Regions from separate parts of the Homo sapiens genome. Here region 1 is linked to region 2. The links are contacts of gene promoters, found by promoter capture Hi-C in human tissues and cell types (Jung and others, 2019). All regions are on one chromosome and are shown on one strand. The core of a region is centred on a gene start or on the middle of the fragment in contact, and the rest is flanking DNA. Distances in the headings are between cores, read along the strand shown. Region 1 overlaps RTF1 (RTF1 homolog, Paf1/RNA polymerase II complex component). Region 2 holds the start of RPAP1 (RNA polymerase II associated protein 1).

What was found. Contacts are between HindIII fragments. The study calls those that stand out against the background at their distance.
Region 1: a contact is called between a fragment that was not itself captured here and the fragment with the promoter of RPAP1 in region 2, in 3 of the 25 tissues and cell types used here (lymphoblastoid cells, mesenchymal stem cells and mesendoderm cells).

The regions. Positions count from the first base shown.
Region 1 is chr15:41,475,002-41,479,576 of GRCh38, forward strand. It overlaps RTF1 (RTF1 homolog, Paf1/RNA polymerase II complex component), which reads left to right. Exons shown (of 18, transcript NM_015138.5): 10 at 524-611; 11 at 711-818; 12 at 1,445-1,522; 13 at 2,164-2,285; 14 at 2,457-2,514; 15 at 3,547-3,624; 16 at 4,102-4,197. LOC105370790 (a long non-coding RNA gene) reads right to left here. Exons shown (of 3, transcript XR_932169.3): 3 at 4,426-4,490. Among named protein-coding and RNA genes, the nearest start is that of ITPKA, 17 kb to the right of the region's middle. The HindIII fragment of the contact is 4,062 bases long and covers 175-4,236 here.
Region 2 is chr15:41,542,366-41,546,790 of GRCh38, forward strand. RPAP1 (RNA polymerase II associated protein 1) reads right to left here and starts at 1,892. Exons shown (of 25, transcript NM_015540.4): 1 at 1,854-1,892. RefSeq lists a silencer at 452-652 and enhancers at 1,132-1,713, 1,647-2,036. The HindIII fragment of the contact is 9,616 bases long and covers 1,487-4,425 here.

The DNA of each region.
Region 1 (4,575 bases), core at 956-3,455, 67 kb before region 2:
TTGCTTCTGGTTCTGGCTCTATGTCATAACCTCATCTGTGACAAGAAAGATCATTTTTATGGACTTCATTTCCTCTTCAGTAAAATGAAAGTGTCATTCACTCAGCAAATATTTACCGAATGTACAGTGTGCCAGGCACTGCTCTAGGTGCCATCATAGTGCACTGCAGCTTGGAACTCCTGGGCTCAGGTGATCCTCCCACCTCAGTCTCCTGAGGAGCTGTGACCACAGGCATGTAACCCTGTCCCAGGCTCTGTTGCATATTGTTGATGTTGACTGTAATGGATTTTATTGTAAATTGACTTTTGAAGCACTGACCAAGCCCATTTGGTTTCCAGTGCTAGCTTTGGGATCTCAATCTTGGCAGCTCATTAAAACAGCCTGGGATGATTTTATAGGGTAGCTAGGATTGAGAACCACTGCAATAGGTATATATAGGTGGTACATAGTCTGGTAAGGTTGCTTTGCTTGTACTACAGTCAACATGCACATTTCTTGGAGATGCTGTCTCTCTTTTATGTAGGCATGGCAATGACCAACGCGTGTTCCGTTTAGAGTTTGTCTCAAACCAAGAATTCACCGAAAGTGAGTTTATGAAGTGGAAAGAAGCGGTACGTGGCTAGAGATTACCTAGCAGTTGTTCGTGCACGTTGAGAAAATATCTTTCCAAAATCCCTTACTAATAATCTCGTATCGTGTTTTTGATCCAGATGTTCTCTGCTGGCATGCAGTTGCCCACTCTAGATGAAATCAATAAAAAGGAATTATCTATTAAAGAAGCTCTTAATTATAAATTCAATGATCAGGACATTGAAGAGGTAAGAAAACTGGTGCCCCAGAACCCGGAGGTTCATCAAGAACCAGTGTTGAGAGAACATGATTCTCTTTTATTTCCCTATATCTTGACATTTTTAGCTATGCATGAAAATGAGGGAATACTAATATTACTACCTGATTATTTATAGTTCATCAAGCTTTTTTCTATACATTCTCATGTCCGGATGAGGCTAACATAGACTGAAGTGTATTCAGAGTTCAGATGAGACAACAAATGAGGCTACATACACTAAAGTGTATTTAGGGTTCAGGGGTCTGTATTCTGCTAGGCTTGATCCTTCAAGAGTTTTCCTTTTCTAAAACATCTTGGTAAAATTATTTGATCTCTGTTCTCTTGGACAGTGGCTAGCCTTACACTACCAGGCCCTTGGGCTGCTGTTTCTTGGTGCATGTTCCTTCAGCCTGTCCCAGAAGAATCTCCGTGACCCAGGAAGCAGCATAGTATCCCTTGGAATGAACCCGCTCTCTCTCTCTCTGGGGCATGACACTGCTGTAGGAAGAGCAGCCCCTTTGTAACTAGCTGTTTGCATCCAAAATGGGCTCACTTAGCCTGTCTACAAAAATAGCTTAGGAATACCTCACTGCTGGTATCTCCTCTCTGGTACAGATTGTAAAAGAGAAAGAAAGGTTCAGAAAAGCTCCACCCAACTACGCTATGAAGAAGACTCAGCTACTGAAGGAAAAGGTAAGGAGTTGTACTCGAGCCTCTTTCCTCATCCTGTAAGGAGATGTGGAAATCAAACTTGTTCATCCTCTGCCAAGTTAGTGGTGGTAGGATTGGGAGAAAATTCTGGGCTCGATTATAAGCAACACAGTGTGTTCTTGGCACCTGGGCAACGTTCCTTGGCCATTTTCCATTCCCTAAATTCAAACTCATCTTCTGCGTGTGTGCCAGTCTTCTTACTTTCTAGTCACTTCAGTTTCCTTTGTAATAAAATAGACCCTGGGGTGGTATTTAACACTGAGTCTGAACAGACAGATGACACTGTCAAGGCCACCTGTGGCTGGTGATTTTCCATTCTTCACACTGGGTTGGGGTGGGCCTTGTTATGGTGGTTTAGCCACCCTGTGAGGCCTGGGGTTCTACTGCCACCAGGGACCCACAGCCAGGTAGCTGTATGGGAAGGTGTTCCCCACTGTACTGTGCACTACTATAATATAAATTATATCTTGTATTTGTAAAGTACTTCTACAGTATTCTTCCACATCTCCTGTCCTTTGCTCACCACATGAGATATCTTTGCCTGTGCTGGAAGTAAGGGGATACTTGATATGGAGTCAGTTGTATGTAGCCAAGAACGAACTCACACATCTCTCTATGTGTAGGCCATGGCTGAGGACCTGGGGGATCAGGACAAGGCCAAACAAATCCAAGATCAACTGAATGAGCTGGAGGAACGGGCAGAGGCCCTGGACCGCCAGCGGACCAAGAACATATCCGCTATCAGGTGTGTTATGGAGCCTATTTTTGGCCCGCAGACCTTGGCCAAAATTATCAGGCAAGCCTGTGGCCTGTACACTCTGTGCTGCACTGACCCCATAGATATCTGAGTTCAGGGCTCAGTGGTTCCCTCCCTCCCTTGTTTCACAGCCACTGACTCATCCCTCTTACCCCACAGTTACATCAACCAGCGGAACCGGGAGTGGAACATTGTAGAGTCTGAGAAGGCCCTTGTGGTAAGAAAACTTTATCTGAATCACTAAAACAAAGTTAATTAATAAACCATGACATCTTTTCTACATCTTGCCTAAGTTTATTTTTTAATTATTGAAATAACGTAGGCACTTAACGTATACACACTCTCTCTGTATGTCCACGTACATCGATATAATTTATTCATAATGAAAAGCAGCAGTCTTCTGCCCTGTCCTACCTCTTCCCACCCTTAGATTCTACTCCACAGGTATTTGTTTTTTCTCAATTTCTGTTTCTTGGTTGTTTCCCCCATATCTACTCTGGTATTCTTGAAGGGAAAAGGATAATATGCCGGGCGCGGTGTCTCACGCCTGTAATCCCAGCACTTTGGGAGGCCGAGGCGGGTGGATCACCTGGGGTCAGGAGTTTGAAACCAGCCTGGCCAGCATGACAAAACCCTGTCTCTCCTAAAAATACAAAAATGAGCCGGACATGGTGGTGCACGCCTGTAATCCCAGCTACTTGGGAGGCTGAGGCACGAGAATCACTTGAACCTGGGATGTGGAGATTGCAGTGAGCTGTCGTGCCACTGCACTTTAGCCTGGGCAAGAGAGCGAGAATCCATTTAAAAAATAAAAAAAATTAGCCGGGCATGGTGGCTCACGCCTGTAATCCCAGCACTTTGGGAGGCTGAGGTGGGTGGATCACCTGAGGTCAGGAGTTTGAGAGCAGCCTGGCCAACATGGCGAAACCCTGTCTCTACTAAAAATACAAAAATTAGCTGGGTTTGGTGGCTTGCACCTATAGTCCCAGCTGCTGGAGAGGCTGAGGCAGGAGAATCACTTGAACCTGAGAGGCAGCAGATGCAATGAGCTGAGATTGCGTCACTGCACTTCAGCCTAGGCGACAGGGCGAGACTCCATCTCAAAAAAAATTAAAAAAAAAAAAAAAGGAAAAGGATAATAGCTTTTTTTTTTTTCAGTCCCGTGCAAAGACTTATTTGCCTGTGAGCTTATGGTGAATGAGAGGAGGGGCTGGAGGTGCAGTTCTGTGGTGCATGCTTTCTGTTTCAGGCTGAAAGTCACAACATGAAAAACCAACAGATGGATCCCTTTACTCGGCGGCAGTGCAAGCCTACCATCGTTTCTAATGTGAGTGCTGAAAGAGGACATTTTAGTCAGGACCTAGATTCTAGGACACAAAATGAATTCCATTAGGAAATTAATAATGAAGTTAAAAATAATGTTTTCTTAGCTGGGATTTGCTTGTCTGAAGCTCTTGGGTCTGGATACTTCCTTTTTTATCTTGCTATAGGACATATCGGTAGTGAAAACGTGGCATGGATTTATAAAAACCTAGTGACTGATCCTCCTGTATCAGGGTGGGTTTACAGTGCAGCAGACATTAGTAATGTGTCCCTTAGCTAGGGCCTGGCTGGGCTGGGCTTGGCTTTCAAGCTTGTAATTGCCTTTTTTTTTTTTTTTTTTGCTGCTTTGAGGAAAACCCCACTAGCTGCTGATGGGTCGGCTGTGGTGCTTGTGATGTTAGTTTGGTAGGTGGGAAAGAATCTGGCAGTAGGACTCTGTGAGTGTCAAGCAATCTCTAAAACAACTTATTTTCTCTCTCAGTCCAGAGACCCAGCTGTTCAAGCTGCCATCTTGGCCCAGCTGAATGCAAAATACGGTTCTGGAGTGTTACCAGATGCTCCAAAGGAAATGAGCAAGGCAAGTGTGGTACCACCCTGTTGCCTGCTGAGTGAGGCTGCTGGCTGAGATACCGAACAAGTACCTTGTCTAGTTTGGGCTTGATTTTTCCACCTTGAGGAACAGGGAGTCCCTCTTGGAGTCCCTTCTCCATCCCAGTTATTTACAGATATAATCAACAGACAACCTTAATTCCAAACCTGACACCACTACTTGCCTAGGGCCTTGACTATGTCCTTCAGCAGCTGGCTTCCAGCCCTCAGCATCCCCTTTTCTGCTGTGTAAAATGAGGGTACTACTGTATACCCTGCCAGCTTCACAGGAGGAGAGATAACATACAAAGATCAGACATTGTAAAAGTGAAAGCTTGTTGAAAATGGCACATTTAAAAGCAGTTTT
Region 2 (4,425 bases), core at 642-3,141:
AAGATCAGTGCTACACGATTTCAGAGGTGGGAAAAATCCCTAAAGGTTAAAAATAGAGGTCAATATTGAAAGAGAAAACTTAGATAAGTAGAGAACTGAAGGAAGTGGATGAAGTGAGCAAAGACCTGTCTACAAAATTTCATCTTAAATTTGGCATAGAACTTGTATTAATTACTATTTGTAGCATGACAACAGCGAAGTATACAGATGTGCCTTTTCCTGGATGGGAGGTAAACAGTATGAAAATGGACTGCCTGTGTTCAAATCCAGGCTCTGCCATTTACTAACTGTGTAAGCTTAAGCAAGGTATTTTACTGAAGTTACTGTGCTTGTTTCCTCATCTGTAACATGAAGATAACTGTACCTACCTCCTGAATTAATTATATATATGTAAGAAGATTAGAACAGAGTCTCATACATGAAAGGACACAAACGCCAGTTATGATTCTTATTATTTATATAGCCAAAGGGCAGATAACCATATCTAATTGTTGGGCAGTCTGACCAACAAACAAGGAAAAAGTCTCCTACCCCAATGCCTACCCAAAGGCCCTAAGGAAGGCTGAACTAGATGAACTGAGAATCCATAGTATGGTAACAATTCACTCCTATAAGAGTCTACATAAGCAGAAACAATTCCTACTTATCCATGGATTCATGTGATCCAAAAGCAAAGTCCAGCTCACTTCATAGGGTGCGCCATACCTACATCACAAAGAGAGCCAGGGGGTTATGGGCACCAGTTTTGGAATCAATAGGCCAGAAGTCAAATACCAGTTCCGCTACTTACTAAATGCACTAAATGTGCGAAATTAGGCAAATTATCAATGCTGTCCTTTTTTTTTTTTTTTTTTTTTTTTTGAGACAGATTCTCCCTCTTGTTGCCCAGGCTGGAGTGCAATAGCACGATCTCGGCACACTGCAACCTCCGCCTCCTGGGTTCAAGTGATTCTCCTGCCTCAGGCTCCCGAGTAGCTGGGATTACAGGCGCCTGCCACCACGCCCGGCTAATTTTTTGTATTTTTTTAGTACAGACGGGGTTTCACCATGTTGGCCAGACTGGTCTCGAACTCCTGATCTCAGGTGACCCGCCCGCCTCGGCCTCCCAAAGTGCTGGGATTACAGGCGTGAGCCACCGTGCGCGGCCTCTATGCTGTCTTAAGTCCCATTTCCACAACTGTAAAATGTGAGTAACAGGTCCTATATAATAGGAAATGTGTGAGGATTTAAATGACTATACACGCAAAACGCCTAGCCCAGTGCCTGTTACTTATATAAATAAACCTCAGTAACAATTATTTTAGTCCTAAGTAAAGCCACCAGTGTGTTTCCCCACAAATCCAGCGCAGATTTGTCCAGAACCAATCAGTGCTAGAAGTGATAACATTTTCAGTTATTAATAGAATAAGAATGGGTTGGCCGGGCGCGGTGGCTCACGCCTGTAATCCTAAAGAGTAATGCCTAAAGAGTAACTCGTAAAAAAAAGTAGTCCTAACAATGGACCTCTGGGTTTATGTTGGCCTCTGAGGAGTCTCTGGGGCTCTTACATTGCAGCCTATCCTCCAGAGCCAGGATCCAATCCCGAGTCGGGACGCGTGACTGCCCTTACCGCTCAGGTCAAGGGCTCCAGTTAAGCCTCCTGGACCACCCAACTCTACAATGAGGAATCATCGAGTCGCAGCTTTCGCCGCCCGTTGAAGGGCCGTGCCCGAGATCTATGCACAGAGGAGGCCACAGTTGCTCCCTTACAGACCAAAGGCCCGCAGGCAGGTTCCAGCAAAGAAACTGGACACGCTACCCTGGGTCCTCCTCCCAGATCACCTGAAATCCGTCCCTCCAGCCCCGCCACCTACGTGCTCCAGGCCTGTCTGGGCGCCGCCATCTTGCCCCGCAGAGATCGCGTTTCCGCCGCCGCCAGATTCCAGCTTCCGCCCCGCAGCCCAGCCCCGCCTCTCCCGGTCTTATCTCGGAGCATTCTGGGCTTTGCTTGTTCAGTGCAGCGGACTGGTGAGCGCGGTGCTGCGCGGCTGGCGGTTTATTACCCCCACGTAAGCTCTATACCATCACCCAGAACACACATCCTTTTTTTTTTTTTTTTTTTTTGAGACAGAGTCTTGCTCTGTCGCACAGGCTGGAGTGCTGTGGCGCAATCTCGGCTCACTGCAACCTCCGCCTCCCGGGCTCAAGCGATTCTTGTGCCTCAGCCTCCCGAGTAGCTGGGATTACAGGTGCCCGCCACCACGTCTGGCTAATTTTTGTATTTTTAGTAGAGACGGGGTTTCACCATGTTGGCCAAGCTGGTCTCGAACTCCCGACCTTAGGTAATCCGCCCGCCTCGGCCCCCCAAAGTGCTGTGATTACAGGATGTGCCACCGCGCCTGGCCCACACATGCTTCTGATGTACAGCAGGCACAGCCCCTTCTGCACTTACGACACCCCTGGCAGGGACACAGCGTTCCTCAGACGTCCCTCTGCACTCACCAGCCAGTGTTACCACATCCCACATCCCAGCACCCACGCCCACGGCAGCACACAGAAACGTGGACACACACACACACCCCAACGTGACGAATGTGTTTATGGAAGAGCTAGAAGGTAACCATGAAAAAGGCCCAAGGAAAGAACACTGCCAGTGTGCACTGCAGAAATAGTGGTGGTGAGAAGAGAGGGAATAAAGCTTCCTTGCTAGCAAGGTTATCATCTTCTCCAGAATCTTGCCTTTGTTCATCCCACTCTCCCTTCTTGGAAATCCTCCCTCTTTTCCCTGCCACCCCTGTCTCCAAAGGATAACTCTTTAAGGCCTAGCTGGCGTCAACTCTAAAACCTCTGCCAGCCACGCCTACTCACCAAACTTTCCTTGGATTCACCTGGAATCTCACCGCCTGCACCAGTTGTGTGGTATGCTAAGAACACACTGCCAACTACCAACTGTCACCGGTTACCTTTTCACAGGCTTATGTCCTGTTCCCTTGAATAGACTGTCAGTTCCTTGTGGGCACCAGACCTTGTACTTTGCATCTAAATACTGAGCACCCAACGTGTTGCCATGCACATAGTAGGACCTTAAGTAAATCATTTCTAGACCAAAGGACATCATGGGGCAGCCAATGTTAGTCCAGTGGCTTTCCAACTTTAACAGGCACCAGAATCAACTGGAAGTCTTGTTAAACCAGATTGCTGGGGCCAGGCACAGTGGCACATGCCTATAATCCCAGTACTTTGGGAGGCTGAAGCTGGCAGATCACCTAAGGTCAGGAGTTCGAGACCAGCCTGACCAACATGGTGAAACCCCATCTCTACTAAAAATATAAAAATTAGCAGGGCATGGTGGTGTCCATCTGTAGTCCCAGCTACTCAAGAGGCTGAGCCAGGAGAATCACTTGAACCTGGGAAGCGGAGGTTGCAGTGAGCCAAGATGGAACCACTGCACTCCAGATTGGGCCACAGAGCCAGACTCTGTTTCAAACAAAACGAAACAGATTGCTGGGCCTCAACCTCTGAGTTTCTGATTCAGTAGGTTTTTCTTTTTCTTTCTTTTTTTTTTTTTAAGACGGAGTCTTGCTCTTGTCGCCCAGGCTGGAGTGCAATAGCATGATCTCGGCACACTGCAACCTCCTCCTGGGTTCAAGTGATTCTCCTGCCTCAGCCTCCCGAGTAGCTGGGATTACAGGCGCCCGCCACCATGCCCAGCTAATTTTTGTATTTTTAGTAGAGACGGGGTTTCACCATGTTGGCCAGGCTGGTCTCGAGCTCCTGACCTCAGGTGATCCACCTACGTCAGCTTCCTAAAGTGCTGGGATTACAGGCATGAGCTACTGCACCTGGCCTGTTTCAGTAGGTTTCCTTTTTTTTTGTGACAGAGTCTCGCTCTGTCGCCCAGGCTGGAGTGCACTGGCGCAGTCTCAGCTCACTGCAACCTGCACCTCCCGGGTTCACACCATTCTCCTGCCTCAGCCTCCTGAGTAGCTGGGACTACAGGCACCTGTCACCATGCCGGGCTACTTTTTTGTATTTTTAGTAGAGACAGGGTTTCACCGTGTTAGCCAGGATGGTCTCCATCTCCTGACCTCGTGATCTGCCCGCCTTGGCCTCCCAAAGTGCTGGGATTACAGGCGTGAGCCACCGTGCCCAGCCGATTCAGTAGGTTTCTAATAGAGCCCCAAAATTTGTATTTCTACCAAGTTTCTAGGTGATGCTGCTGGTCCCGCACTATAGCAGATCTATAATCCTCTTGGCTTCAACTACAGATGTAAATTTCGGCTACTAGGATTTAGTCATCTTGAGGTCCAAAATAGTACTAGACCTGGTCAGAAGTTATGGAGGCAGCGGGATGAGGGAGAGGAACTGGAGCCAAATATGCAGAATGAATGATAGTAGAAAATAATTGTTCGCAATGAAATAACGAGATAATGGCTCCTGGCAATG